Regions from separate parts of the Homo sapiens genome. Here region 1 is linked to region 2. The links are contacts of gene promoters, found by promoter capture Hi-C in blood cells and fetal thymus (Javierre and others, 2016). All regions are on one chromosome and are shown on one strand. Each heading gives the region's core, a stretch centred on a gene start or on the middle of the fragment in contact. The rest is flanking DNA. Distances are from core to core; before and after follow the strand shown.

Region 1 (3,417 bases), core at 624-3,123, 280 kb before region 2:
CCCCGTCTCTATTAAAAATACAAAAATTAGCCGGGCGTGGTGGCAGGCGCCTGTAATCCCAGCTACTCGGGAGGCTGATGCAGGAGAATCGCTTGAACCCGGGAGGCGGAGCTTGCAGTGAGCCGAGATCGCGCCACTGCACTCCAGCCTGGGCCACAGGGCGAGACTACATTTCAAAAAAAAAAAAAAAAAAAAGTGGTAGGGCCGAGACACAAACTCACACAATTGGACAGGAATCCCCACTCAATCATCAGAAAGCACCTCTCCGCAGTGACTAACAGTCTGACAATTTAGAGTAAAAACAAACTCAGTTTCTCCCACTAGTCTTGCAACATGCTTCGGACACCAGGTATGTGGGGATTTTCTCCCCACAAATCACGCAGGTCGTCAGTTCTGCAGTGGACACAGGCTGGGTGTCGTCTGTCATCCTAATTCAGTCATCTATTCTGACAGCGTCTTCCTGGAGATACCAGCAGACCCCCACAGGTTAACGGCTCAGCCCCGCAAGACTGCCCCCCACTTCCAGTGCCCAGGTTGTTTGACCTGCGCTTGGGACCGACGGGGCGTAACCCGGTGACCTCCTCAGGTTGCGGTAATTTGCTAGAGTGGCTCCCGAACTCACAGACATGTTTTACTTACACTTACCAGCAGAGTATAAAGGATTACAAAGAATACAGGTGAAGAGATGCGTGACGTAAAACCGGGGGGAAGCGCTTGGAAATTCAGGGCCTCTCTGGGCACCGCCTCCAGGAACCCCCACGTACTATCTGGAAGCTCCCTGAACCCAGCCCTTTTGGGTTTTTACAGGAACTTCATTTCACAGGCGTGATTCATCAGCCACTGGTGATCAACGCAACCTTCACCCCTCTCTCCTCCCCAGAGGTTGGGGGTGGGGCTGAAAGTCCCCAGAACCTCTAACCCTGCCTTGGTCTTTCCTGCGACCAGCCCCATCCAGAAGCTCCCTAGGGGCTGCCGGCCACCAGTCCACTCAGCCTACAAAAGACATCACTTTGGAGGTTCCCGGGATTTCAAGAGTTGTATGCCAGGAAAAGGGGATGGAGCTGAAATACACAGTTCACTGTATCAGTTACCTCAAACTTAAAACGACCAAAACCCACCTCTGATCTCCACATCACCCAGACCCGACAGTCTACCGCAAAGCAATAAATGGCCACCTTCTCCCTCTTCCTCTGGCCCCAAACCCCTGAGTTACATTTGCCTTTTCCGTCTCTGCCTTATGTTCCATGACCAGTAACCGCAATGGCTTCACGTTCCAAACACATCCGGGACCCAGGGGTTTCCTCCCCGCGCCGCCCTCCTTTGGGCCATCCCTCCCCAGGTCTCGAGAGACCGCAGCAAGAGTCTCCGCTAACGCCTCGCCGGGCCCCCGCCGCCTTCCCCGGAGGCTGCTCCAGGGCCCGGGAAAGCTCTCACCCCCGAACCCGGCGTGGCCCCTCCGCCCCCGGCCCGGGAAGCCAAGTCCCCGCAACTGCCCTTTCCGCGGCCGGAATGGCCTTTCCCGACCGGCCCTGGTTTCCCCGGCCGCCTCGCCCAACTGCTGCCGGCTCCAGGGGCGCGGCCGGGACCCCAGGCCCGAGGAGGGCGTCGGGGCGGGGAAGGGGCCAGGGTGCGGGGACCCAGCGACCGCCTGGGCCTTACCTGAGGCGGGGGCGGCGGCCGCGCTTGGCGGAGGAACTGGGGTCCCGCTGCGGCCCAGACCTCCCGGCCGCGGGCCCAGCCGCCGCACCAGCCACCGCACAGCGATCAGCAGCACCGAGGCGCCCAGCAGCTCCCAGGCCAGCGCCGCCCACTCGGCCGCCGCCAGCCGCGGCCACAGCATCGCCGCCGCCCGGGCCGCAGCCGCCGAGAAGCCCGCGCCCCGCGCCGCGCCCGTCCCAGGACCCCGCGCCGGGCTGCCCGCGCCCTGCCTGACGGCGCCGCGCTCGAGGCGGCCGGGGCGGCGCGGGGGACACGGACGGCGGCCCCGCTCGCGGAGGCCCGGCGAGGGCGCGGCCCCGGCCCTGGGACCCAAGCGGGCGGGAACGGGCGAGCGGACGGGCGGGCGCGGCAGGCGGGGCGCGGGCAGCCCGACGCGGGGTCCTGGGACCGGCGAGGCGCGGGGAGCGCAATGTGCTGGCGGGGGCCGGGGCTGGGGCCCGGGGAGGCCACCAGGGCGGGGCCGGGCGCGGGGCGGCGCTTCTTCGCGCCTCCCGGCCCCGGCCTGGCGTCCGTGGGGCGCTGTGCGTCTCCGAGAACGAAGCGGCCTCCGGGTTCGTGTGCTCCGAGCCCGAGTACTGTTTGCGGCCGTCGTCCCGTCCTGGAGCAGGAGTGAGGAAGCGCCTCTCACTCCCCCGCGAACCCGCAGAACAGGCCGCCGGCGCTATGGAGACCGGCGGAGCTTCCCGCTCCTTCACCAAGGGGCCCTGACGCGCAGTTGAAAGCGCGGATTTTGCCGGGCGCGGCGGCTGCGTCCGGAGTCCCAGCGCCTTGGGAGGCGAGGCGGGAGGATCCCCACGGCCCGGGAGCTCGAGACCAGCCCGGGCAAATATTTTGAAAGTCATGGTAAAAGCCGCAATTACTTTTGCACCAACCTAATAGTGAGACCCTGTCTCGAAAAAGGGAAGGAGGATTTTACTGTATGTAATTTAGATGTTTTATTTATTTTTTGATGCGGTGTCTTGCTCTGTCGCCCAGGCTGAAGTGCAGTGGCGCGATCTCGGCTCACTGCAGCCTCCGCCTCCTGGGCTCAAGCGATTCTCCTGCCTCAGCCTCCCAAGTAGCTGGGATTACAGGTGCCCACCACCACGCCTGGCTAATTTTTGCATGTTTAGTAGAGACGGGGTTTCCTCATGTTGGCCAGACTGGTCTCGAATTCTTGATGTCAAGTGATCCACCAGCCTCGGCCTCCCAAAGTGCTGGGATTACAGGCGTGAGCCACCGCGCCCCGCCTAATTTAGATATTATTAAATGAAAATGAAAGACCTGAAAAATATAATTGATATCCTTGGTTAAAAACATAATTGATCTGAGCGAGGTGGCTCAGGTCTGTAGTCTCAGCAACTCTGGAGCGTGAGGGGTGATGGTAGTTTCAGTCCGGGAGTTCGAGGCTGCCATGAGCGTGATCTCGCCTGTGAATAGCCACTGCACGCCAGCCTGACCAACATAGCAAGACCCCATCTCTTAAAAAATATCATTGGATGGTACTAATGGTTGGTTGGGCACTACAGAAGAAAGGGTCAGTAATTTTGAAGATGGATGAAATGGAAATTCAAACCACGATGAGATGCTGCTTGAAATCCACCAGAATGGCTAAAATTTAAAAATTGGCAATATCAAATTTTGCTGGCAAGAGCAAACACTGAGTTAACCACCTTGGAAAATAGTGAGGCAGTTTCTTTCAAAGTTAAACGTACACCT
Region 2 (3,299 bases), core at 686-3,185:
TGGGATTACAGGTGTGCACCACCACGCCCAGCTAATTTTTGTATTTTTAGTAGAGACAGGGTTTCACCATGTTGGCCAGGCTGGTCTCGAACTCCTGACCTCAGGTGATCTGCCCGCCTCGGCCTCCCAAAGTGCTAGGATTATAGGCGTGAGCCACCGCGTCCGGCTAACAGAAATTCTTGAGCTTACAGGATGGCAGATAAGAAACAGTTTGCTGAAACTCCGTTTGTAATATAATACAACTGGCTGAAATCAGTTGAAACCAATATAACCAAACGGAGTCCATGCAGAATGAGCTTGCTGATGTCGCAGCCTGAATTTCCACTGCACTTTTCACACTAACTCTACCTTAATTTGCACATGGGACCCAAGAAGAGGCTTGAAGAGACAACTGCACATGGTCGGGGACTTTCCAGACTTCCTTTTTCCTTCACCATTCACCTGTGAATCCCAGAATCCACCCTCTAAACCTTTTTTCACAATAGTGCTGCCTTAAGGGCAGCACAGAGAGATAGATTTGAACTAAACTCCTGTCACTTTGTTGGTCAACTCGCAATTAAGCTTTTCTTTTCTCAAACGCCTGGTGCCATAGTATTGGCTTCTGTGCACATCGGGCAATGAGGTCTTTTGCGTAGCAGTATTTGGATATCCGGTTTCCTCACGCTATTTATTGAAGCGACTGTCCTTTCCCCATCGTGTATTCTTGACACAAGATTAGTTGACTTGCCTAAGATTAGTTGACTGTATATGCATGGGGTTATTTCTGGTTTTTCTACGCTGTTCCACATTGGTCCATGCGTCTGTTTTTATGCTAGTACTTCACTGGTGAGTTCTACCTCTGGGAATAAATATAAGAATTCTCTAATCACTGGATGTTTGAAGCAATTCACTAAGCAACTCATTATGATGCTTTCTGGCAAAGGATCTCTGAATTTGTCTTCAAATTGTGGATAAAATTGGGTCAAATTTGGCCCATGTTGTCCTGGAGAATCATTTGTGTCACAAATTATCAAATTTATTAGTATAGAGCGGATTTTCATTCAATTTCCTATGTGTCTATGGTTATTTCTCTTTTTTCATCTCTCTCCTCCATCTCCCCGGCCCCATCTTGCTGTCATAAGCATCGTGACTTACCTATAATTCTCCCTACGACTCCAGTTATGGATCAACTTTACTTTTTTCTGTTAATTCTTACCTTCTTTCCATAAATATATTTAAATTTTTTCTGGTTTCCTCAACTGAAGTCAAACCAATTGAGTATTGGTGGGCCGGGCGCGGTGGCTCACGCCTGTAATCCTAGCACTTTGGGAGGCCAAGGCGGGCGGATTGCCTGAGCTCAGGAGTTCGCGACCAGCCTGGGCAACACGGTGACTCCCCGTCTCTACTAAAATACAAAAAAATTAGCCGGGCGTGGCGGCGGGCGCCTGTAGTCCCAGCTACTCGGGAGGCTGAGGCAGAAGAATGGCGTCAACCCGGGAGGCGGAGTTTGCAGTGAGCCGAGATCACGCCACTGCACTCCAGCCTGGGTGACAGAGCGAGACGCCGTCTCAAGAAAATATATATATATATTGGTGGATTCGGTTTCCCTTTATGTTTCTCAGAAAACCGTGTGAGCCCGTTTGGAGTCACTCCGTCTCCAAGCGACAGGCACTTCCGGACGCGGGGCACTGTGGGAAGTTGAGTTCGCGGGGCTCCTTCCTTCGCGCATGCGCACATGCACTCTTGGTAATGCTTGCAGGTGGCCCGTTCTTCCTCTTTGTCCTTCGCTGCCACGTGAGAGGGGAGTGTACGCGTGTGCGCGCGTGCGAGTGTGCGCGTGTGCAGTCCCCGACTCGTCCCGGCCCGTTCGGAGCCGCCCGGGAGCGCACAAAGGCCGACGGTTTGGGCGCGTGCGCGGGACACGGGGGACGGGCGGTGTCACGTGATCGCGAGGCCGCGGGCGCGCGGGCGCGACTCGGCGGCGGCGTCTTTTGTGAGTTCAGTGAGTTTATTGCGGGCCCGGCGCTGGGGGCTCCGGGAATGGCGGGGGAGGCGCGCGGGAGTGGCCGCGGGGAGCTTCGGCTTCAAGGCCCTGGGCGTCCGCGCGCGGATGCGGGTCTGGGGCGGGTTGGGGCTGGGCCGGGTCGTGAAGATGCCGTGGGCCGCGGAGCTGCGCGGATTCTGGGCTGTGGGGCGGGCACGGCCTTTCCGGAGGCGCCGCTCCTGGGCGTCCTTTCAGGCGGGCGTGGAGGCGCCAGCCTCGGGCGCGTTTAGCCTCGGGCGCGTTTAGCCTCGACCTCGGGCCAGCCCGCTTGCCGCGCCGTGGCCCTAAGGAGCGGCTGCCCTGCTGGACCGCATCCACCAGCAGCCTGGCTCTGCCGCTATCGAAGGAGGCTTTTAAAGCGCTGGGGTTACAGGTGTGAGCCACCATTCCTGGCCGTGTATTTTTTAATGGTTATATTTATTGACTGTTTTAAATTTTTTAAGTGACTTTTGCTTTTGGTATGGTGTAGCGAAATCTCCCCTCAAATTATACATATATTCATTCACCTGTGGTTTTTTTTTGTAGACATTCTTAGGGTTTCCATTATTTTAAAATTTAACCCACTGAAAGTAGTTGTATGAAATAGCTACGTTTATTTTCTTTCAAATATTCTTGTATTCATTAAATAATTTAATTTTACTGATGGCTTTGAAATGCTACATTTATTGCATGCTGACTCTTGCATATTTAGACAGTTTGCTTTTTTTCATCTGTATAACTTCTCTGGAGCCAGTGTCAAATGTTATAATGATTATAATTTGTATGTATTACAGTGGGCCTGTTCACACTCATTATTTTGTATTTCCAAAAGCATCCAGGCCCGGTGTGGTAGGGCATGCCTGTAGCCCCAGCTACTCTGTAGGTTGAGGTAGGAGGATCACTTGAGCCCAGGAGTTCAGGGCTGCAGTGAGCTATGGTTATGCCATTGCACTTCAGCCTGGACAACACAGTAAGACCCTGTCAAAAAAAAAAAAAAAGTGTCCGAATTGTTCTTGAACCTTTTTTCTTACACATAAACTTTAGAATTTTGAGATTCTGATTGGAGTCGATGAGTTATATAAATCATTTGAGGTCAAATTATCTTCACAATCTGAAGTCTTCCTATCCCAGAATAAAATCGAATTATAAATTTCTTTAATTCTATTTTTATAGTTCTCATTGGTGTTTTTAGTATGCTTCATATGGGTCTTGATATTCCTACATATTTTATGTATTTTGTCAATTATGAGTCGGATTTTATTTTTTTGTTATTTTATGTGAGTTGTTTATATCTTAC

What was found. Contacts are between HindIII fragments. The CHiCAGO score rates a contact against its expected background, and 5 or more counts as called.
Region 1: a contact is called between the fragment with the promoter of ANKLE2 here and the fragment with the promoter of ZNF84 in region 2, in 9 of 17 cell types (total CD4 T cells, activated CD4 T cells, monocytes and 6 more). The highest score is 13.3, in total CD4 T cells.

Annotation. Positions count from the first base shown.
Region 1 is chr12:132,759,959-132,763,375 of GRCh38, forward strand. ANKLE2 (ankyrin repeat and LEM domain containing 2) reads right to left here and starts at 1,874. Exons shown (of 13, transcript NM_015114.3): 1 at 1,660-1,874. The coding sequence starts at 1,840. RefSeq lists enhancers at 1,220-2,088, 2,443-2,542 and silencers at 1,323-1,912, 2,003-2,292. The HindIII fragment of the contact is 14,066 bases long and covers 1-3,417 here.
Region 2 is chr12:133,035,574-133,038,872 of GRCh38, forward strand. It overlaps ZNF84 (zinc finger protein 84), which reads left to right and starts at 1,936. Exons shown (of 5, transcript NM_001289971.2): 1 at 1,936-1,972. ZNF84-DT (ZNF84 divergent transcript) reads right to left here and starts at 1,649. Exons shown (of 3, transcript NR_110091.1): 1 at 1,196-1,649. RefSeq lists an enhancer at 1,553-1,642 and a silencer at 1,863-2,042. The HindIII fragment of the contact is 6,122 bases long and covers 560-3,299 here.